Linked DNA regions of Homo sapiens: all the other regions are linked to region 3. The links are contacts of gene promoters, found by promoter capture Hi-C in blood cells and fetal thymus (Javierre and others, 2016). All regions are on one chromosome and are shown on one strand. Each heading gives the region's core, a stretch centred on a gene start or on the middle of the fragment in contact. The rest is flanking DNA. Distances are from core to core; before and after follow the strand shown.

Region 1 (5,489 bases), core at 2,782-5,281, 160 kb after region 3:
GTCAGTGGCCGTGTGAGTGACCCATGTTAGAAACAGATCCGCCAGCCCAAACAGAACCTTCAGACAACTGCAGCCCCAGCTGGCATCTTGACTGCAACTCATGAGCGATTCTAAGCCCACCGAAGCTGCTCTTGAATTATTGATTCACAAAAACTTTTAGGTAATAAATGTGTGTTGTTTTAAACCACTGAGTTTTTGATTAATTATGCATCAATGGAAAACCAGATCACCAATGCAGGCAACATAATGTAAATTTCAAGCCTCCCTTGTAGATAGGACATGGGAACAAAGAAAGACTTGCCGATCTGGAGCACCTGCATGAGCTTTTGATCCTAATGTGTCCACAAGAAGATATAGGCTCTACGTGGTGTTTCTGTATTTATTGGCTGAGTTGGTGGCTTTCTATAGTGGGAAGTTCAGGTTTTAGGAAAAGAAATGGCATTAGAGAATGGAAGTTCCTTCTAGTTCTTACTAGAGCAGCATCATCAACAGTGGGTTTTTATATCTGGACAGTTCTCTGGTTTAATTTTTGATATTTTTATCTGGAGGCTTAGTCTAGAGCTTGTTTCTATGGCATCCCAAAAATTCAGCAGGCACCACATCTTAACACCTCTGTTTAGTCATCAGTCTTACATTCAGCTTTACTCTTTACTACAACGTAATAAATACCTTCCAAACCTATTACCTATCTCGTTGGGTACAATAACTATGTCCTAATGGGTCCACTTCCCACCTTTCTAACCAGTATGTGCAAGCAAATCCCAACCTAGTTTTCAAAGGGCAGCTGTAAGAGCTTTTCTAATATGTATTTGGTGACATCAATTCACTGCTTAAAACATCTCAATATTTCTAATGATCATTTCTGTGACTCATAATCCCATAATTGCTTGCAATGCCTTTTACAATACAACACCTGCTTCCTATTCTAACTTCTGCTTTCTCCCTCCCTCCCTTCTACTTCTACATAGTTCTAAACCTTCTTCACTGTTTGCTCCTGCATGCGCCCTCTGGCCGCTACGCATTCACATCTGCTGTTCCCTGTTTCTGACCCTTTGAGCATCACACATTTACTTGGTTAACTCCCACAGATCCTTGAGATGCCAGCTTAGCAGTTACTTCTCCTGGATGCTTTCCCTGACGGAAACAAGTGCTACACGCTTCCAGAATCTGATACTTTCCCTGTCACAGTCATTAGCATTACTTTAATTAAATGCTCACTTGCCCACATCCCACCAGACTGGAAGCTCTGTCATTCCCTGAAAGCAGAGAATGTGTCTACTTTCTTTCATTGTAACTAGCACCATCCACAGAGCCAGCAAATAAAAGGTATTTGCTACTTATTTGAAGTTTCAAGGTGGATGATTCCGTATTTCACTTTAGTTTCTAGTTCATGCAACTGCTGAAACTGAATCAACGGTCATCAGATATGACTTATCTAAGAAACATAAGTAAAACTGAATTCACTTCAGCTGGTATAATCTATGTGAATTGTTCATCTCCTTCATGGCCCTAGGATTCCTACCTACCTACTTATTGTTTAGAGCTGTCTTCTCAGGAAGAGTGCTCCACTGAAGAAAATAAAGTCTTTATTTAACTTACCAATATTTTCACAGTGACAAGTAAATTGCCTGGAGCAGAGATATTTAAAACGATTTATGAATAAATAGACTTAATGTTCCTTTTGGATTTGAAAGCAGATTAAAGGTTTAAGGGCACTTTGTATCTCTTTGAGGGTTTGAGTAAGACCTGACTTTTACTGTAAAGATTTAAGTACCCGCTCCATCCTCACCAAACAATAGAAACCAGAAGGCAAAGCTGACCATATTTATAAACAATAAATTTTGAAAATATAGCAATTATCATTGGATAAATTTTAATTATTACAAGCTAAAAATGTAATTTCTCCCTATTCAAAAGTACAATTTTGCCAGGTGCAGTGACTCATGCCTGCAACCCCAGCATTTGGGAAGCTAAGGTGAGTGGATAACTTGAGGTCAGGAGTTCGAGACCAGCCTGGCCAACATGGCAAAAATCCATCTCTACTGAAAATACAAAAATTAGCTGGGCATGGTGGTGCATGCCTGTAATCCCAGCTACTTGGGAGGCTGAGGCATGAGAATCGCTTGAACCCGGGAGGCGGAGTTTGCAGTGAACAGAGATTCTGCCACTGCACTCCAGCCTGGGTGACAGAGTGAGACTCTGTCAAAGACAAACAAACAAAAAAGTACAATTTCTTATTATTGAAACACAGTCTTACAAAAATGACTCAATATATCGATAAATGAAGCAGAAAGGAAAGTCTTTGAATTGAATGAATATTTACAAGCTCGAAGCCACATAATTAGTAGATGAGACCCAATTGACTGATACTGGGTCTAAATCTAAGTTTCCTTTCCAACCTCCTGGGATTTCCGATGAGCCTATTAACACAGAGAAAGCATTTATTGATTTTCCTTTCTTAATCTGCAGTCTGACAATGTCCCAGGCACAACAGATGTGTTCTTTCTTTCTCACATAGAGACTGATTGCTTGTGAATACTCCTTCACAGCCAGGCTGGAGTCCTCCTACTCAAGGTCTCTTTGATTTCCTATACCCAAACAGGTCTCCAGAAATTCTAGCTACTGATCAAGCCCAGTGAGGAATTTCAGTTCTTTGTGCTGAAAACGTTGGAGATCTGCTGGATCATCTCATGAAGAACATTGGTGGCCTGAGCCTTTTGGAATTTGGTGCCATGCGGCTGCTCTAGGGGAAACTTAAAAAACATTCTTGTTCTTCAGACAGGAAGAAAAGAAAGATTCTCCCAATTTGGTGCAGAACTTTGAAGGTCACCTATTTATGGCAGCCCATGGCTCTGGGCTAGGCCACAGCTAAAGCTGCAGAGAGAACTGCAGAATATCATCCTCAGTGTCACTAGGGAAGAGGTTGGCCGGGTCATTGGTGGGATACAGCTGGCTAGGCCATTTGAGTCTTTACCCACCTGTCTCAGCACTTTCTTGTTGTGAGATTCTTACATAACCAGATTAGGGTTTTCAGTTTTTGTACTTATCTCAACTTTATTTCTACTTTGTTCACTTTCTCTTCTATTTATGGGTCTCAGATAATGTCATGACCTCAACACTTCTTTTGTATTATGACAATGGAAATTAAACACACTCAGAAAATGGCAAAACTCTCAATCTAATAGGAAATACCCATCCAAATGAGGCTCAATGTTGAAATAACAACCTATCTGAGTCTCAATCTATGTCTCTTTTAAAATTCTAATAAGTATACTTAGAGGTTTGATCTTGGACATTTTTACTTCTTAAACTGCACTGAAATACATGTTTCCTCACCTCTCTGCATTTCTCTTTTAAGTGGCTAATACACTAGGTTTGATTTCTTCCACCTTTCTTTACAAGAGCCACAGCTTATAATCTGTAGATAACGGTGGCATAAAACTCGAAAACCCAGGGTTAAGTCATCCAGTTGTCTTTGTTCTGTCACTAAAAATGTCTTTACTGCATATATGTGACAGACAATAGGCTTGGCAATTTAGATTAACAGATAAGTAATACAGGATGATGACTACCCTCCATGGATTCAAAGAATGGCATTTAAGACATGATTGTGATTAATTAAACACTAGCATGCTCAGTGCAGCCAAGAGGAAGAACTGAAAGCTAATGAAGAGGGAAATTGGGAGGCAGTAGAAACTGCCACTTTGTGACAACATCTGTGGCTCCTGGGAGCTTAAACAACATCAGATTTTCCTTTCCTCTTCTGCAAAATTGAGACAATTTTAATAGTTGTCACATAGGAAACTGCAAAGATGAAATAAAATAAAGTTTGCAAATTACTGGCTGAGAATCTGAACATGGTAAATGATAGTTACCTTTAATTTCAATGTAATAAATAACATAATCCTGTATAGTCCACATTTAACCAAATCCAGACAAGAGAAGCTTTGATTGCAGCTCCCCTGACATTCCTGAGGTCTAACACGTTGATGTCCCTCAAATTGAAACTCTAGGAAAGGGGACTGTCTGTAAAACTGTGAAGGAGCAGAGCCCAGGTTCCCATTGTCAGAGTAGTGCCTTGCACAGAGGAAAAATTGTACAGCCCCCATGAAGCTTGTTCCAGGGAACCAGTGTCTCAGCAAGTTGCGATAGAAAATGGCTGCTCTGTGAATAGTATAAATAAATAAAATAATCCCTTTACTCAGATTCAGTTAGTTTCAAATCACCATTGATGATTATTTTTAGGCCCAAGTAAAACATATTTTGTAAACCATTTTCCTAGCCTTTACAACTCTCTAACTCAACCCTAAAAAAAAAAAGGTGATTTGAAACTAACTGAATATAGTATTATATAAAGTTACCTATAGATATATACAGAATATACACTTACATATTTATATATACATATTTAAATACAAATAAATAAGTAAATATTGTAATGTATTTAATAACATACAATATATGTTATATGCTATATTGTATATGTGTATATATAACATATCGTATATATGTTATTCTATATAAAGTATATATTGAAGTATATATATTAAAATATATAAATGTATACATATTTTTACACATTATATTTACATATGGATTTTTAAATGTACAAAAACATATATAAGATATATAAATATATATTCTTTTTTTTTTGACAAAAGTCTCACTCTTTTGTTCAGGCTGGACTGCAGTGCTGCTGTCATACCTCACTACATCCTCGAACTCCTGGGCCCAAGTGATCCTCCCACCTTGGCCTCCCAAATAGCTGAGACTATAGGTGTGCACTACCACACCTGGCTAATTTTTTATTTTTTGGTAGAGATGGTGTCTCCTTCTGTTGACCAGGCTGGTAAATCCTGGCCTCAAGCAATCTTCCTGCCTTGGCCTTCCAAAGTACTGGCATTATAGACCTGAGCCACCACGCCAGGCCTATATATTCTTTATGTATATTTAAATACATATGCTTAAATTATGTATACTTATATATTTAATAATATACAAATTTAATATATTTTAATATGTTAAGTATAATATAATAAGCATATATTAAATTATATGAGATTGTAAAAGTATATAATACTTAAAGCTGTATATACTTAAGTATACATAATTATATTTACACATATTAATTACAAAATACATAATCTAAAAATGTAATGTATATTAATATAAGTATATAAACTTATTTTATGTTACATAAAATTTAAGTATATACAAGCATATATATACATATATATATTTCTGGAGGGAGGGGGATTGGAAATGGGACTACCTTGATTTTCAGCCATGGAAAAATCACAATACTTTGCTGATTCTGATGGCTGCCACACTCTCCCTTCCCCCCTACTTACTGGAGGATCCCATTCTTTCATTTCTGTATGACATTAGTTTCCTCCCTCCCCAGCGTAGAAATCCCAGGGTGCTCTCCTCATTCACTCACCATTAACCTGCACTGCCATTCATACAGCTGCTTCCTGTTCCATTGTAAT
Region 2 (5,591 bases), core at 2,360-4,859, 250 kb before region 3:
AAAAATAGCTGGCCACCTGGAGAAGGCAAAGATGTGTCCACGTGGAACAGAGATGTATTCCAAATTCAAATTTGCTTTCCACGCTTGCAGTGCCTTTGCCCAGACCACTATTCCTGGATGACAGTGTGCCTTATTCACTGCCATCATATCCTTCTTCATAGGGCTTTTATCCAAGGAACTTATTTTACAGCAAAAGGAGTGGCAATGTGATAATACTCATGGAACTCACTGGTCTTAGGACAAACTACATCACCCAAAAGCAAACCGAAGTGGAGAGGAATGGTAGCAGTAGAAGTGATCTGCCTGGGGTGCAAGGAATAAGGGGATGAATTGCCTGCTGAGAATTAGAACCCACTAAAAGCCAGTTGCTTTTCATAAACACTAGGTACTTGCAATCCTAAACAAAATCAGTGAAAAGAGACTCTCCTCAAAGTTTACTCCTTCCTCTTTCCCTTCTTGGTTCTCCATTGAACACTGATTAAGATACCATTTATATTTTCAGATAATTCTTCACCAAAAATAACGTGCTACTGTCTGGGCTATGGGGTTTCAAAAAAAGGTTTTTCTGTAGAGTCTTCTTCCTGTCATGAGATAGTCTCTTACATTCTTTTACATTATGAAGTAGAAAACTTTACATCTGTACCTGAGGATTGCACTGTGAAAGGAATCAATTGGAGGTGCAAGTGTATTATAAATAGGGTGGCAGCATTATTCTTGGAATTGGATTCAAATCATTTAGTAAGAGAGTGAGAACAACTCCAGGTTACAATGTTGGAAGCTATTATTGAGTAAGAACAAATCCAAGAATGAGAGAGGTAAATATGAAATTATAACATTAAAAATAGACAATCATTTTTAAATTTGTGTCCTTCATTTTATCAGATAGGATGTGAAAACACTTATCTCTTCTGTTTAATACTGAGGACCTAACAGATTCTTTAGGTGTACCAGATATTACAAACAATTTTCAGAAAGTCTTTGGCAAAGGATGAAAAGGGGGAGTAAAAGATAGCATTGGGTTAGAGGAGAGAAAAGAAAAGTCTAGCAGACCTGTGATATGCCAGAAACCATCTGGATTTCAAGGCTTATTTCATCTTTTCGGTGCTCCAGGCATGGTGCTTATGATCTTTTCAATGACTGCTGTAGTGAACACTCTGTCCTGCCCAGGTGCTTCCCTCTCCAATTCCTTTCCCCAGCACTATGCCCTGTCCCCTCAGCGTCCGTATTCTCTTTTGCTAAAGGCTCCCTTGCCTCTGCAGAGGACTGTCTTTGGATATATAAACTGTCTCATCACTGAGGGAAGTGCCTGAGAATATTCCTATCCACTGACTGACAGCTGGTGATTGACTGATGGAAGGGTACAAAAGCCTGACTTATTTGCCTCAACAAGTGGGACAAAGCTTGCCATGTGATTTATACTCTAGAGCTCCCCATAGGATTAGGCTGAGATTGCAACTTTATCTGCAATTACAGCCTTGCTTGGGTTCTTCCCCTTCCCAGTCTTGCCCTGACTTCCCCACTACTTCTTTCAAATCCTTATCATTTTCTCCTAGGAATCCTTCTGTAATAAACCACTTGTTCATGAATCTTCATGTCAGGTTTTGCTTCTAGGAAACCTGACCCAAGACAACTAATAAAAATATTAGACAGCTAAAAACAAATTGGCATCAAAATAAGAAAACTACCACACTGAAATAAATAAATACATTAAAATAAGTAAAATAAATAAAGCTACCAAATGAAACAAATGTCTACAAAATTTGACAATATATCAAAGCATCAAGTGTAGGAGAATTTAGTCAATATAATTACATATACTATATTTAATCTATGTGAATATATTTTAATATATTAACTGTGATTGGGAATGTCATCTTCAAAGGCAAGAAGGCCACAGCCCTACCTAATTTTAGGAGCTGGTGGAGAAGGGCAATACCTTCTTACTGACATTATTAATAGAAGCTAGGCATGGTGGCTCACATCTGTAATCCCAGCTCTTTGGGAAGCCAAGGCAGGAGGATCACTTGAGCTCAGGAGTTAGAGATCAGCTTGGGCCACATGGGGAGACCCTGTCTCTAATAAAAATAAAAATAATTTCCAAGTGTGATGGTACATGCCTGTGGTCCCCGCTACTCAGGAGGCTGAGGTGGGAGGATTGCTTAAGCCTGGGAGGTCAACACAGCAGTGAGCCATGATCACACCACCGCACTCTAGCCTCGTCAACAGAGAGAGACCCTGTCTCAAAACAACAACAAACAAAATAGGTCTGCTCAGGAAGCAGGGACCATCTGGGTTGGGGAGACCAGATATTGTCCTTGAAGAAAAGATTTTCTCTTTTCAAATGAGAGAGACTGCCTATGGCTTGCAGTTATCTGAAGTCTACTGAATAGGAAAAAAAGAGCTTTCAAGCTACAATTATAGATCAAAGGCAAACACTACAAATACTTCTTGAGAAGTATATAGAGTGTGTATAGAAGCATATACAGTCACACTAAAGTCTAATTGGTTATCCATCAACTTGGGTAGATAAACCAAGTCATATCCTTGCCATTTTGAGTTGAGTTGAGACAAAGGCTGGCAGGCAGACTTAAGGGAATTGAATCCTTGAAAAAGAGGTGGTTTTAAGGAACATAGCAAAATGGCACTTGCAGGGAGGTTGTGGGGCATAAGACAATCTCAAAACAATTATTCTTGAGCATGGTCTAACTTTTCTTCAACTGAGTAATAGTATTTTGGAAACTATCTCTAAGGAGAGTCAACGTTACCTCTAAGATAGGTCAGTACAATGATAAAACTGTAGCCTTCTTCTGTTTCCTAATTTGGCCCTTATTTTGTTAGATTAATGATGTTAGACTAGTTTTTAGAGAGTCTTTCAGCAGGGTGCTCAGGTAGAAACTTAATTAAATATTATTAATAATAATATTCACCCACTTAATGCCAGAATTGTTTCAGGCATCCCAGCTGCGAAAGCTTCCTTTAGGAACAGCACTCAATTTGTGGTTGTTCAAGTGTGGTCTACAAATTATTTTCATTGGTCTTTGAACTGGAAAAGACTGAGGCCTAAACATTTGTTTCAGGCATTGTAAAGCTTATATGAATGCAAATGGTTTTCTAGAGATTTTCTTCTTCTTTTGCAAAAAAATAGGGTCACTTGGAATGTATTGTATTGATTACCGATACAGGTTTTTTTAAGATTATGAAAAACATCATATTCAGATGTTCTTGAAATAGAGCTGTTCTCCAACCATCCTTCTTACATCAGCAACTTCAGGATATTTTTTTTGGTGTGTCTTCTTATCCTGTAGATCACATTGCTTTAGGACTTCCCACTCATTGAAACAATGGGTTTCCGTGCTTCAGGGAAAAGGTGTCAGAACATAGTCCCCACCAGAACACAGGGGAGTCCTTGTCCAGCTTTGACTGTCAAATTAGATTTTAGCTTGCATCTACAACTTGAAAATAAGTTCAAAATCCAGGCTTTGTCAGGAAAAGAAGTCACATTTTTGTAGCATACCCAGACTCAAGTCTGGTGAACTCCTTATGTTTCTTCTGTGGTGCAGAGAGCAGGACAGAGAGGATGTCCCTTCCATCAATGATCCTCTTCCTTAGGCTTGCTGAATAGAGAGCAGATGCAATGAGGAGCAGTGCCTCTCAAACTATCTGTGGGAGAAACCACTTTTAAAAAGTTTCTAACACATCTTGTTCTATTGAAAGAAGTAAAAATATTTCACTCCCATAGACACTTCTTTCACATATTTTGAGACGGCTGTTCAGAGGGCCTGCAAACGGAAGTAGCCTTGCAAAGCTCTTTTGTGGAGATTTGCATCTAAAGAGAAAATTTACATTGATGCATCCAGGCTTTCTCTGAAACCTTCCCTTGACTGGATCTAGGAAAGATTAATGGGAGCCTGACACCTTTAAAGGTCTGAAAGAAATATTTACCATTTATTCTTTTGGAGGGATATTACCTGTGAGGTTTCACCTAGGTAACATGACCATCTTTGCCAGCCAAGTCTCTCCTCTCCCTCTTACCTGTCTTGCCAGTAAATCCTGATTTACCACCATAACCTTTTTGGCCATGCTCTGAGCCTTCATTCTTTCTGTAACCTCAAGATGGTAAATAAGCTTTTGCATCCCATTGAGGGGTTGTAGGAGTCACTCTGTGGTTCTCTCCGTGTACATGTTAATAAATCTGTATGCCTTTTCACCGATTAATCTGCCTTTTGTCAGTTGATTTTTTTAAGCAAAACTTTACAGCAGGGGCCCCAACCCCTGGGCCACAGACGGGTACTACTTCATGGCCTGTTAGGAACCGGGCTGCACAGCAGGAGGTGAGCAGCGGGCTAGCGAGCATTAACGCCTGAGCTCTGCCTCCTGTCAGATCAGTGATGACATCAGATTCTCATAGGAGCACGAACCCTATTGTGAACTGCACATGTGAGGAATCTAGGTTACACTCCTTACGAGAATCTAATGCCTGATGATCTGAGCTGGAACAGTTTCATCCTGAAACCAACCCCCAGCCCCCCTTTGTGGAAACATTGGCTTTCATGAAACTGGTCCCTGGTGCCAGAAAAGTTGGGGACTGCTTCTTTAGAGGTTGAAGAGGAAGTTTTCCCTGGGCTCCCACACTATCATTTAAAAAATACAATAAAAGTGAGTTATGAGAAAAATGAAATAGAAAAACAAAGACACATAAAATAAAAGCCTAACATTTTAAATTACATTTGGTAGATATGAAATTACCCTGTTAAATTGTATCTAGAAATTTACTCTTGATTTTTGTGTGTATCTTATTGTGGGCCAGTGACAGTCCATGGCCTGGCACTAGTCTGGGTAGCACTGGTGTAGGGAAATTGAAAAGCCAGAAATCTGCACCCTCTATTTCTAGAGATGTTGGAGGAGAAGAGAGAAAAAGAGCAAGAAGACAGAATACAAGGCTCTTGCAGTCTTTCTACTCCACCATCCTCCAAACTGGCTTTGTAGAATTCTACCTTGGTGGCACCTACTTCCTTCAAGGCCAAGGAAAATGCCACACTTCATTGGCTGAAGGTAGCAAGGAAGGCAGATGAAGAAGTCAGGGATGACTGCATGTTCCTTGCAGATGCTGAAGGAATCTGATTTGTGGGCAGTGAGTTACCACTGAGCTTTGAGGCAAGGCATCAAGTGACTGGGTTGGGTAGCCTAGGCCAAGATAGAAATGAAGAACATGCCACAGTCTTAGAGGGGTCTGCAGTATCAGTGTGATCCATGGTGAAGCTAAATCACTCAGTCATAGTTAGATGTGACTGAGAGAGGGACTATTTGGAAAGGGAGAGCAGTCCAGAACAGCCATGCATCAGCAGAGAAAAGAGAGGACAACACAAAGTGTGACTTCAAGAGCACTGCTCGCCCAGGGTATCATGAGGTCATGTAAACCCCATATCTTTCCTATTCATCCAAAGGTCTTCTTGGGGAGGAGCTGGGCAGGGGTAGATGGAATCTGAAGGACTGAGCCTTTCACCTAAAAAAGATTAAACAATTACCAAATAGACTATTTATTGAATCAGACTATATTTATGAAGTTGAACTAAAGTATAGTGTCCCCATCC
Region 3 (5,694 bases), core at 373-2,872:
CTGAAATGGGAGATAGGCAAATCTAAAATTATACTAGGGATTTCAGCTCTTCTGTCTTGATAGTTGATAGAACAAATAGACCATCAGAAAGGATACAGAAAATTTCAAACACTTTCAATCAGCTTAACCTATTTGACATTTATAAAACAGTCCAACCAACAAAAGTAGAACATTATTATTTCAAGTTCACAAGGAACTGTCACCAAGATAAACCATATTCTAAGCCATAAAATAAGTCTCAATAAATTTAAACTACATTCTTTAACCACAACAGATTCAAATATGAAATCAGTAACAGAAAGGCATCTGGAAAATCCCTGATCATTTGGAAATTAAACAACATTTAGATCATTTTTGTCAATTGAATGAAAATGATGAGAAAGCCTTATAGATCAGAGCTCGTTGTTATTAGATGGAGTAACTTCTGATATTCTTAATTTATTTTTATATTGTTTTCCCGAAGCTCAGCATTAAATATTTAAAGATTTTTTGAGACTAGTCAAAATTCTACTTTCCAGATAGATTGAGCATAATGTTATGAAACAAGTGTTATTCCTTTCGTATATTATATATTATCATATGTCTTTTCTCTCTCTTTCTCTTTCTCTCTCTCTCTCTCTCTCTCTCTCTCTCTCAGATAGGGAGGGAAAAGACCCTCTGTGGAGCATGCTGACTGAGTTTATTTCAACTTATTAATACTAGACTAAGTGACCAAACATACAGCTGAGCTGGTATATAATGAGACCATACATGTTTACAGAGTGCCTGTTTTTGACATTTAGGGATTCACCCAGCTGCCTGCAGAGAAATGATTAAAGATAAGACTCAACATCTTGTATTACTTTGTGTAGAACATATTAATTTATTCCAAGTCAACACATATTTATTAAGCAACTACTATAGTTGTATAGACAGCAAAGAAATCAGTAATCAGTGTTTATTTCACACTCTGAAGAGACTTTTAATCATGTAAGTACATAGTCAAGTATAAGACAGAACAAGAAAGGTGTCTTAAATAAGGTAGGTACAAAGTGTTGTGGGGATCCAGAAGATTATGGCTCCTTGGGGGAGATCTGGGCCTTAAAGGACAAGTAGTCTTTAGTCCTTGCACAGAAAGGTTCTTGAGGTAAAGGAGGCAACAGTTGATGTTTCAGAGAAAGCATCATCAATAAACACACACACACACAAGTGCTAGCTGTATTAAGGGAATACTAAATCACTTACTTTATCTGGAGTTCAGATTCCTTCACACTATATTTAGAGCAACAGTGGGATAAGATTGGAAAGGTATATTGGGGGCTTATTCAAGAGGAACTTAGAATATGGAACTGGGTATTTGTAATTCAAAGGACATTGTTAATGTAGAGATGTTCACATTAGTTTACCAGAGCTATCACTATTCTAGGGAATATACGCTAACCAAATGCCCCCAATCTCTCTTCACATATAATTTTGTCATCTATAATGGATATATATCATTTAATTATATGGCTGTACCAACATATATGTAATCATTCACCTGTCGTTGAACCTATAGGTTGTTTCTAATATTCTGCTTTGCAATAATATTATAACACTCTTCTTTTGCTAATTTTTTTGCATTGCTTCTATAGGCTAGAATCTTAGATATTAAACTGATAGGATAAGATATAAAATAATTTAAGATTGCTGATATATGTTTTAAAATTAATTATTTGCTCAAGCATTTGTGACAATTTACAGTTCTAATTGAGGTTTTAAATTTAGTAGTTTGTAGGTATTTTAAGTTTTGCCCCTGAATTCTTTATAGGTGCTGATAAGCCTTTGGTAAGTTTTACTCCATGAAAGACTATTACTGAAAAAAACGTAATCTCAATAAAAGAACTTTAATAAGCTTGACTAAATATTTAGAAAGCACATTGTGTTCAGTGAAACTTTGTATATAATGAATAGAATAATAAAAGATTATGTTGGATGACTAGTCTGTAATTGCCTCAAGGAAAGCATACAATGAATAAGTTATTTTGGTACTTCCTCAAAATAGCCAACACAATAGGGAAATGGAGAAAATGTACTCTGAACACCATGAAAAGGGAACCTGAAAATCTAATGTGTAAACTTGGAGAAATGACATTAGAAAACGAAAGCAACAAAAGAGAACACTCTCCAAAATAATCTGAGATGCATGAAAGGCAAACATTCACTAGAGCTGGAATTTCCCTAAGTCTATGCAGGGATAAGTAGCATATTTGACCTTCACCATGATTATCAAGCACTTCTTTGGAACTGTGTTGGTGCTGCTGGCCTCTACCACTATCTTCTCTCTAGATTTGAAACTGATTATCTTCCAGCAAAGACAAGTGAATCAAGAAAGTTTAAAACTCTTGAATAAGTTGCAAACCTTGTCAATTCAGCAGTGTCTACCACACAGGAAAAACTTTCTGCTTCCTCAGAAGTCTTTGAGTCCTCAGCAGTACCAAAAAGGACACACTCTGGCCATTCTCCATGAGATGCTTCAGCAGATCTTCAGCCTCTTCAGGGCAAATATTTCTCTGGATGGTTGGGAGGAAAACCACACGGAGAAATTCCTCATTCAACTTCATCAACAGCTAGAATACCTAGAAGCACTCATGGGACTGGAAGCAGAGAAGCTAAGTGGTACTTTGGGTAGTGATAACCTTAGATTACAAGTTAAAATGTACTTCCGAAGGATCCATGATTACCTGGAAAACCAGGACTACAGCACCTGTGCCTGGGCCATTGTCCAAGTAGAAATCAGCCGATGTCTGTTCTTTGTGTTCAGTCTCACAGAAAAACTGAGCAAACAAGGAAGACCCTTGAACGACATGAAGCAAGAGCTTACTACAGAGTTTAGAAGCCCGAGGTAGGTGGAGGGACTAGAGGACTTCTCCAGACATGATTCTTCATAGAGTGGTAATACAATTTATAGTACAATCACATTGCTTTGATTTTGTGTATATATATATTTATCTGTGTTTTAAGATTGTGCATATTGACCACAATTGTTTTTATTTTGTAATGTGGCTTTATATATTCTATCCATTTTAAATTGTTTGTATGTCAAAATAAATTCATTAATATGGTTGATTCTTCAAATGGGTGTATTTTCATACAGGCTGGCTGGGTAGATACAATAAAATATGCCACTAATGTAAAAATACTTTCCTTAACATAGAACTCCATTGCAATGATTTGCTTATTTGCCAGAAATTGCTAGAGACAATGAGAAATATTGGGAATAATTTGCATTTTAAGATTTGAAAATATTATTACACAGTGAATATTTACATTACAGGAGACACAATAGAAATATGGTGAAAGGACATGAACAGTTTGCAGAGAAAAAAAACTACATTAAAAGAGGTTCAATCTCACTCATGATAATAGAAATACAAATTAAATAGCATGCATGCCATTTATAGTACAACCACTATGGAGGCAATTAGGTGATATCTATTACAGATGCATGTAGCCTTTCATCTATAAATTCTAGGCCTGGAAATGTGTCCTATAAAAATACTTGCCCACAGCTGGGCGTGGTGGCTCAGGCCTGTAATCCTAGCACTTTGGGAGGCTGAGGAGGGTGGATCACAAGGTCAGGAGTTCGAGACCAGCCTGGCCAATATGGTGAAACCCTGTCTCTACTAAAAATACAAAAATTAGCCGGGCATGGTGGCGGGCACCTGTAGTCCCAGCTACTCGGAAGGCTGAGGCAAGAGAATCACCTGAACCTGGGAGGTGGAGGTTGCAGTGAGCCGAGATCATGCCACTGCACTCCAGCCTGGGCAACAGAGTGAGACTCTATCTCAAAACAAAACAAAACAACAACAACCACAACAACAAAAACTTGCCCACGTGTGAAATAACTTACAAACAATATTATTCTCTGCAGCACTATTAGTAATACCAAAAGTCAAGAAACCATCTCGATTTTCCTAATTAGAGACAGTTGAGGCATATTCATATAAAGGAACACTATTCAGCTGGAGAAACAAATGAGACGGTATTTCTTTTTAAAAAGTTGAAAATAGGCAAGATACAGAGCAGTGTACATAAAATGCTACATTTGGGGTGAAAATGTTAAATAAAACTTACGTTTGTCCTTACTGTGTATAAATAAAGAATAAGAAATAAATTACAATGATTACCTGTATTTAGGAGAAGAAGGAAGACTGAAGAAGGAGATTAGGGTGGGAGAGATTTTATAGCTCCTCTAAAAATTTTTATATTAAATTGTGTGAATATTACATATTAAGATAATAATTTAAAATGTATCTAACGAGTCACAGTTATCAGAAATATGCATGAGGGAGTCTGGCTGGTGAAGGTCAAAAGGAACAGGAGACTGAATTAGCCTGCCCCTGGTTGGGATGTCTGCTTGGAGGAGGGCTGGAGAGAAGCACACCCGTGCCAAGGGAGAGGGTTCCTGCTCCTGGGAGATGCCAGTGATGGAGGGATTCCAGCTCTTCTAGCCAGGAACTCTCAGAAGTCACCACGGAACAACGTGGGGGCAGAGAAACTAAAGTTGAGGCTTGGTGGCTATCCCACTTTCGTCCACTGTAAGGGAGCAGAGCCACAGCCCAAAACTCTGATGCTAGTTCTACTACCATGTGTCATGTTCTACGTCAGATGCATTGCATAATTGGAGGTAAAAGTTAGTAGTAAATGTAAAAACTTAGGAACGAAGCATACTCCAGTTCAGTTTAATTAATGCAAATGAGTAATGGCTGCTACTTTAGACTTGGTTTGAAAGGGAAGAGTAGGAACCGAATAGGATCCTGAAAGTGAGACAGTCACCTGCAATAGTGAAGAAGGGTAAGGAAGCAGAGGCTGTCAATCAGAAGCAAGTCTTTGCTGACTTCACATTGCAGCCAGGGGTTGATCTGTTTACCTTCAAATTCACACAAAGGTAGTGAAGTGGAGGAAGGAGAAATACCACAAGGAACTGCAAATATAAGTTACTTTTCTTCTCATGGTCTAGAAAATTTTTTGTTGTTCTTTAAACCAGGAAGTTTTTGGAACCAAATCCTTCATTTAACACATTATCCAATTTTCAAATTGACCTTACCAAGTGCCTTCTGTAATTATTTTTTTCTCAAGTGAGAACAAGACTGTAAAGGTGAAATAACATGCTCAAAGTAATGTAGCAAGCCACAGAGCTTGCAGATACCAGAGCAAAGATCTTATCCCAAGTCAGCCTGACTCAAAAGCCTGCACTGTGTTGTTGACAACTCAAACCTGAATAGCATTGTGAAATATCACTGCAAAATAATAATAACAATAATAATAATTTTCTCCTAGCTTTCTTTATTCAAGTTTACAATGGTCTCTGAAGTCTTGAATTAAAGAAAAGATATTTTCCTTTCTCTTGACATTGCTTCCTTAAGAACTGAGAACAGAATGGAGGAACTGTCAAATGGAAACGTTTAGAAAATAATACTCATATTTAGAAGTTTAAACTAATACTTTATATACTAATGTTTTCCCAAACATTTAGGTTTATTAAGTTGATATCCTGTTGTATAACCACCTCAATGCCTAGCACAAAATAAAAAATTGTTACTTCTAAATATGTGTGCCCTTTTAAAACTCCAAAACCAGAGTTCTAAACTTGGGAATATTGGGAAGGAGAGACGTATTAAAAGATTGGACTCCTGGCTTAGTAGCACATGGAAAGGCTTGGAGTATGGGTAG
Region 4 (5,335 bases), core at 1,119-3,618, 200 kb before region 3:
TGTTGTCATAATGTGGTAATGTACAATGTAGTAATGCCAAATCTTAGGGGTATCAGAAATCAGATGTTATAAAATACATTACTTTTAAACTGTGTTTGGATTAGCAGAACACATTTCCCAAGTCTTCATAATGGCTACAAACAGGTGTTTGCTACTTCTCTAACCTCCTTCCTACAAGCCTCCTACCAATCTCTCACTCCCTCTGTCACCACCACATTGACCCAGCTGTTCCTGAGCTGTGCAGTGCACTCTCCTGTCTCAAGGCCACTGCACCAGCACTTTCCTCATCAGGAGCACCCTTTCCCTACATAGCCACATAGCTCATTCCTTCATCTCCTTCATGTCTTTTATTAAATGTCTTCACCTCAGTGAGACCTTCCTTGACCACCCTATTTGAAATCGTATCCTCTCCCCACACTTCCTCCCAACTTGATTTTGTTCAAAAACACTTGTCTTCCTCTAATATTATGAATTTTATTTATTGGATTTGTTTTCTATCTCTTCCAACAATAGAATGTAAACTACTCGAAGACAGAGATTTTAGTTTATTTTGCTCATGGCTATGTCCCCAGTGCCTAGAACAGAGGCTGGCATATAGTAGAAACTTCATTAATGATTTTTTAAATGAAGGACTGAATACATAGATGAATCTGCAAGCCATCTTTGTTCTGTGGTTTGGGCTTCCAATTTTTGACATCTTATTTACACTGAAAATCTTATAGCACACCCTGAAGGAAAGAGAGATGATATAGTTTGGGCAGTGAACATCTAAATTATTCCTTTCTAGGAAAGTCAAATAATCAAATGACATCATCCACAAAATTGCAGAGCATTTCTTTCAGTTATAATGTCCTACATAAGCAAACTAAAGCGTACACAATCATGTCAAACTTATTAATCTCATGATATTTTAGTCGCTCTATTTTCATTCAGTGTTTATTCAATAATCATGAGGCCTTAGAATTTAAACTGCTCAGAACAAGTCCCCTTACCCACAATGTTGAGCTTCAGGTTAAGTCTAAAATTAAGCATATTTCCTTTGCTGATTGGGAAATGAAAATAAATATGAGAGAGGCAAGAGGGAGCAAAGATTAAGCCTGATCTTTGTGAAGGAAAAAAGTTAATTCACGAAGATTATGTTTTCTCTGAAAGACTCACCTTTCCCCTTTACTCTGGCCTATATGAGTCAAAATTTTGGATGCTATTCTTAAGAATTCAGGTCATTTCTCTCTCTCCTTCTACTCTTTGCTCAGAAAAGCTTCAGACAAAGCCACTAAATTTACAAACTAAAATTCAGGTTGTGGGTGTGTGTATTTTTGTGTTCTCTGACATAAGAACAGACCAAACATATAGCACTCTTCAAGGACATAGGATAGATGAACATATGTTAATATACAACAGATGTCATGAGAAGCATGAAATACATTTCATGACTCCATAGTAAATTTTGTAAGTCATTGCCACAAGAATTGGTACATAATGAAAATATAAACGTTTGAAAAAGATGAATTCTTACATAAAAATAGATTCTTAATAATTTATGAAAGGTGAATTATTTGGATATATTCTTTGCCCCTTCGAAGTATGTGACAAGTAGGGTTTAGTCTAAAACAGAAACCTCTTTAGCTATTCAATCAGGAAATTTAATTTAGGGTTTACAAAACATTGTAAGACAAGAAAATCAGGGAAACTGCCACAAGTATTCAGGAAATCAGGTAAGGCAGGAGTTGCAGGGGACCTTCATCACCTGTCTCAGTTGTCTGAAGCACCTAAGTAGGTGATTTTCAGGCAGACCCCCAAAAGTCACTGGCAAAACCTCAGATCTGCTATCTGCCAGTGACCCTGTACCTGCTCACTAACTCCAGAGCAATAACAGTGCCTTCTCTTCCACCTTCTCGTGCAAGTGTCTCTCGTTAGAAGACCCTAAATCAGAGCACTACTTACAAGGAGTCTAGAAAACATAGCCTTTATGTTTCTGGGCCTTGCTTCCAGGGAGAGTGAAGAAGGCCCCATGCTGAGACACCAACAGACAATCCTGCTCCAAGTTGAAACCAGTGGAAACAGCGTACTTTTCCTCTGTTTTCTGCAAATGGACTCAATCCATTTAGGCTGAGGCAGGCGAATTCTAGCATGACCCAGTATACCAAACTGTTCTTATGAAAGAACCAGCCACTCCCAGAACCACCAGTGGGTTTAACAACCTTTTTTTTTTTACGGCGTTTTCATTCTCTTAATAAGACAATCCCAGTCTTCTTTTCACTCACATTCACTGATTCCTTTAAAGAGTTAATTCTGCTGAAAGGTCTTGCTCTATGTGTACATTTCTTAACTGGCATCCCTACTAAGAATAGGGAGCAATGAGGAAAGGTTGTGGAAACAAGGGAAAATTAGTTTATGCAAATAAGGCAGAATGATATTTTACCAGGCTGACACTAAATTTATCTTAGTAAGATTGGTATTACAGTATAGTCTAGCAATTTTCCTCCTGCATCTCTGAAACCTTCCTAGCCTGTGACTCAGTTTCCTACATTAAGGGGCTGTTGCCGCTGTAGTTAGGGTAGTCAGAGGAAGGAAATGCTTGCTCACCTTTGCTGTGTTTGGAATAACCACTCCACATCAAAGAGGTGACTCATTCTGTCCACTTGCCAGCTCTGAGCTTGCTTTCTACCTCCCACTACCCTTTCCTGGCTGTGCTGTTCTTGGCTGGAGAGACTTTTCACCAGCAAGTCCAGGTTTGTGGAGCCTGGCACACTTACCTCCCTGAATGATGAGGCTTTCCAAGGTGGGTTGCTCTACAGGTTGGGACCTGAAGGTGACCACCAGTTTGCCCAACCTACCATTCAAGGTGTATGACTCAAAGTCAAGAAGCTGGGCTTTACTGCTCCTCAAACAGCGAAAGGGAAATGAAATCATTTTATTTCCCCCTTCGTGTTAACAGTAAATATGTAAGCTGAAGATGTTATAAGTTCCTATTTTCATTGGATTTAGAGAAACATGTTGCTGCCTGGAATCACAGAAGCCATCAGGTTCATTTCAGTGAACTCGACAGTGTTACTGTAGTGTGGGGCAGATGGTAAATGCTCAGAAAATATTTATTCGTGTTAGATATACCTCTGTCTGGATGAAAACCATCTTGTGGTAAATAACTTCACTGTAGACATTCTTAGAGAGGGAAAATCCACACTTCATTTAATAAAATCCACTACAAGATTCAATATAGAGGAGAATGTGGGCATGGAAAAATAAAGGACTTTGGAATTAATAGAGATAGGTTTGAGATTAGATGCTCTGGGCAACTCCCTTACGTTCTTATCAAATAATGCAGTGTGTGGTAAAGGAGTCTGGAGTCAGATTGATCTGTTCTAGAATCTCAGAGGCCCACTTAATAGCTACATGGCTATTGACGGTTGACTTCCTTAATCTTCAGCTTCCTCATGTAATACATAGAGTAATAATGAAATTTTCCTCATAAGCTTGTTGTAAGGATTAAATAAGACAGTGCAAATAAATGTTCTAAACAGAGACCCTAGGACACAATTAGTATCCAATAAATTTTAGATATATTCTAAACTTGTTACCTAACTTGGAAAAAGAAAAAAATAAAACATGCCATACTCTGCTGCAAAGGGATTTTACAGATTCTGTGAACATGAAGAAAATGCCTCCCGAGTGTGATTTGTAAGCATTATCTAACTTGCTCATTGTCATGAGCCCATTCCTTTTCTCCAGCATTTGAATGTGGGCTTGCTGCTATTATCTTTTGGCATAGTCCTTGAAAATTTGCACATCGGTTTAACAGACCAGCATTTAGAATGTATGCACATGCACCCTGGAACTTATGGAAAAGAAAAAGGATGCTTAGAGCTCTTGATTACTTCCATTAATGATGAGTTTGACAACCTGCATCTGCAAAATCCTCAGATACTTTACCATTGAACGTTCACATTGCCAGCATTCCCTCATGCTTGGATATTTAGGGGAACTGAAATCGACTCCTGGTGGTAGATTGGTGGTCTTCCTTTGACAGACCCTCTTCAGCTTCTTATGGTGTTTTATTTGCTATTTAATGTTCTAAATAAAGAAGATTTTAATTTAAATTATTGGCATGAATTTTATCATTTCATCATATATCTTTATATTGAGCAATACCAGTTTGAAATGCATATATAAGAGCATTTAGTTTGAATATACCCATGTATTTCATTCTTACCAGAACAGTGAAAACACTCTACTCATTCAGCTGTTGTATTTCATATCTTAATATACTACACTCACATTCTGCCATCACTCTCTCCTTTCAACTTACGAATAAATAAGGAAAGACTTTTTAAAAAGTGTGTGCTGCCCTATTTTTCCGTTTCCTTCTTTGTAATAGTCCCTGGACTGACACCTGTTGAAACCAGACCCTTCCAGGATGGTACTGGCAGTAGAATGACCTGACCATGTTAGAGCAAAGCTCCTCTTTCCCCACCTTTCCTTTAAAGCAGCCGGTTAACCTTCTTTGGCCTGCTCTGCTAAGTAATAATGCTTCTGGGGCATTTGGAGAAGAATTGGTGTGAATGGGTTTATATATTACCCAGATGGCCTCACTATTACTCATAGTCAATTGGGAAATTTCCAACCATTTCTACTTCTAATTACCTAAGGGATTTGAACAGACATCTGCTATTGAGCTCATTTGAAAAGAGCATGTCTGAGTATTAGGTTTCACTCAACAAACATTAAGTGAGAACCATTAGTAAGGGAGTGGGGTGAAATAGAAGAAAGTCCTTCTGGTTTCACGAAAATATCAATTTAGGTTCAGTCCCCAATTCTGCCACTACTGTGTGTATAACCCTGAGAATGTCAACCTCAGAGCATCTTACTGATCTATAAAATAAAGTAATATCTCTTTTCAATGTTGTGAGGAATAAGAAATATTTTTGTGCTTAAAAACTCCTCAGTAGTAATAAGTGTTTAATAAATGGCAGCTGTTATTAGTGTTGCTTTCTTATTATTCTAAACTTTTCTAGCAAAAGGAAATGCTCAGAGAAACTGTCCGGTTCTTCTTTAGGTGTTCCTATCCCATAAGGCTGTTATATTTAATACAGAAAATGGGTGGAAAAATGCTTAGTAAAACAACAAATATAGAGTTACTATGGTTATTTGGAGAAAAGGCACTTAGAGCCTGAGAAACACTGTAGACTAGGCCAAATAGAGTGACTTTCCTTTGTTAGAATATAAGACAAGAGGACAAAAAAGGAATTAGCTTAGGGCATAGCTGAGATAATGTTTCTCATACGCTTCTTGGATTGATTTATTCTTTAATTGAAGCAATTCTAACATAAATTTTGTT

What was found. Contacts are between HindIII fragments. The CHiCAGO score rates a contact against its expected background, and 5 or more counts as called.
Region 1: a fragment that was not itself captured here is called in contact with the fragment with the promoter of IFNE in region 3 in 2 of 17 cell types (naive B cells and total B cells); the score reaches 6.7 in naive B cells.
Region 2: a contact is called between a fragment that was not itself captured here and the fragment with the promoter of IFNE in region 3, in 4 of 17 cell types (naive CD8 T cells, endothelial precursors, naive CD4 T cells and 1 more). The highest score is 7.7, in naive CD8 T cells.
Region 4: a contact is called between a fragment that was not itself captured here and the fragment with the promoter of IFNE in region 3, in 1 of 17 cell types (non-activated CD4 T cells). The highest score is 5.4, in non-activated CD4 T cells.

The regions. Positions count from the first base shown.
Region 1 is chr9:21,318,747-21,324,235 of GRCh38, reverse strand. The region is part of intron 2 of LOC107987053 (a long non-coding RNA gene); the gene reads right to left. It also overlaps the pseudogene IFNA20P. Among named protein-coding and RNA genes, the nearest start is that of KLHL9, 14 kb to the left of the region's middle. The HindIII fragment of the contact is 168 bases long and covers 3,948-4,115 here.
Region 2 is chr9:21,734,637-21,740,227 of GRCh38, reverse strand. The region is part of intron 1 of LOC107987026 (a long non-coding RNA gene); the gene reads left to right. Among named protein-coding and RNA genes, the nearest start is that of MTAP, 65 kb to the left of the region's middle. The HindIII fragment of the contact is 1,037 bases long and covers 3,091-4,127 here.
Region 3 is chr9:21,478,241-21,483,934 of GRCh38, reverse strand. It overlaps IFNE (interferon epsilon), which reads left to right and starts at 1,622. Exons shown (of 1, transcript NM_176891.5): 1 at 1,622-3,096. The coding sequence starts at 2,241. The coding sequence ends at 2,867. All of the region lies in intron 1 of MIR31HG (MIR31 host gene), which reads left to right. The HindIII fragment of the contact is 2,296 bases long and covers 1-1,875 here.
Region 4 is chr9:21,682,400-21,687,734 of GRCh38, reverse strand. No RefSeq gene overlaps it. Among named protein-coding and RNA genes, the nearest start is that of MTAP, 120 kb to the left of the region's middle. RefSeq lists an enhancer at 2,051-3,250. The HindIII fragment of the contact is 2,215 bases long and covers 1,261-3,475 here.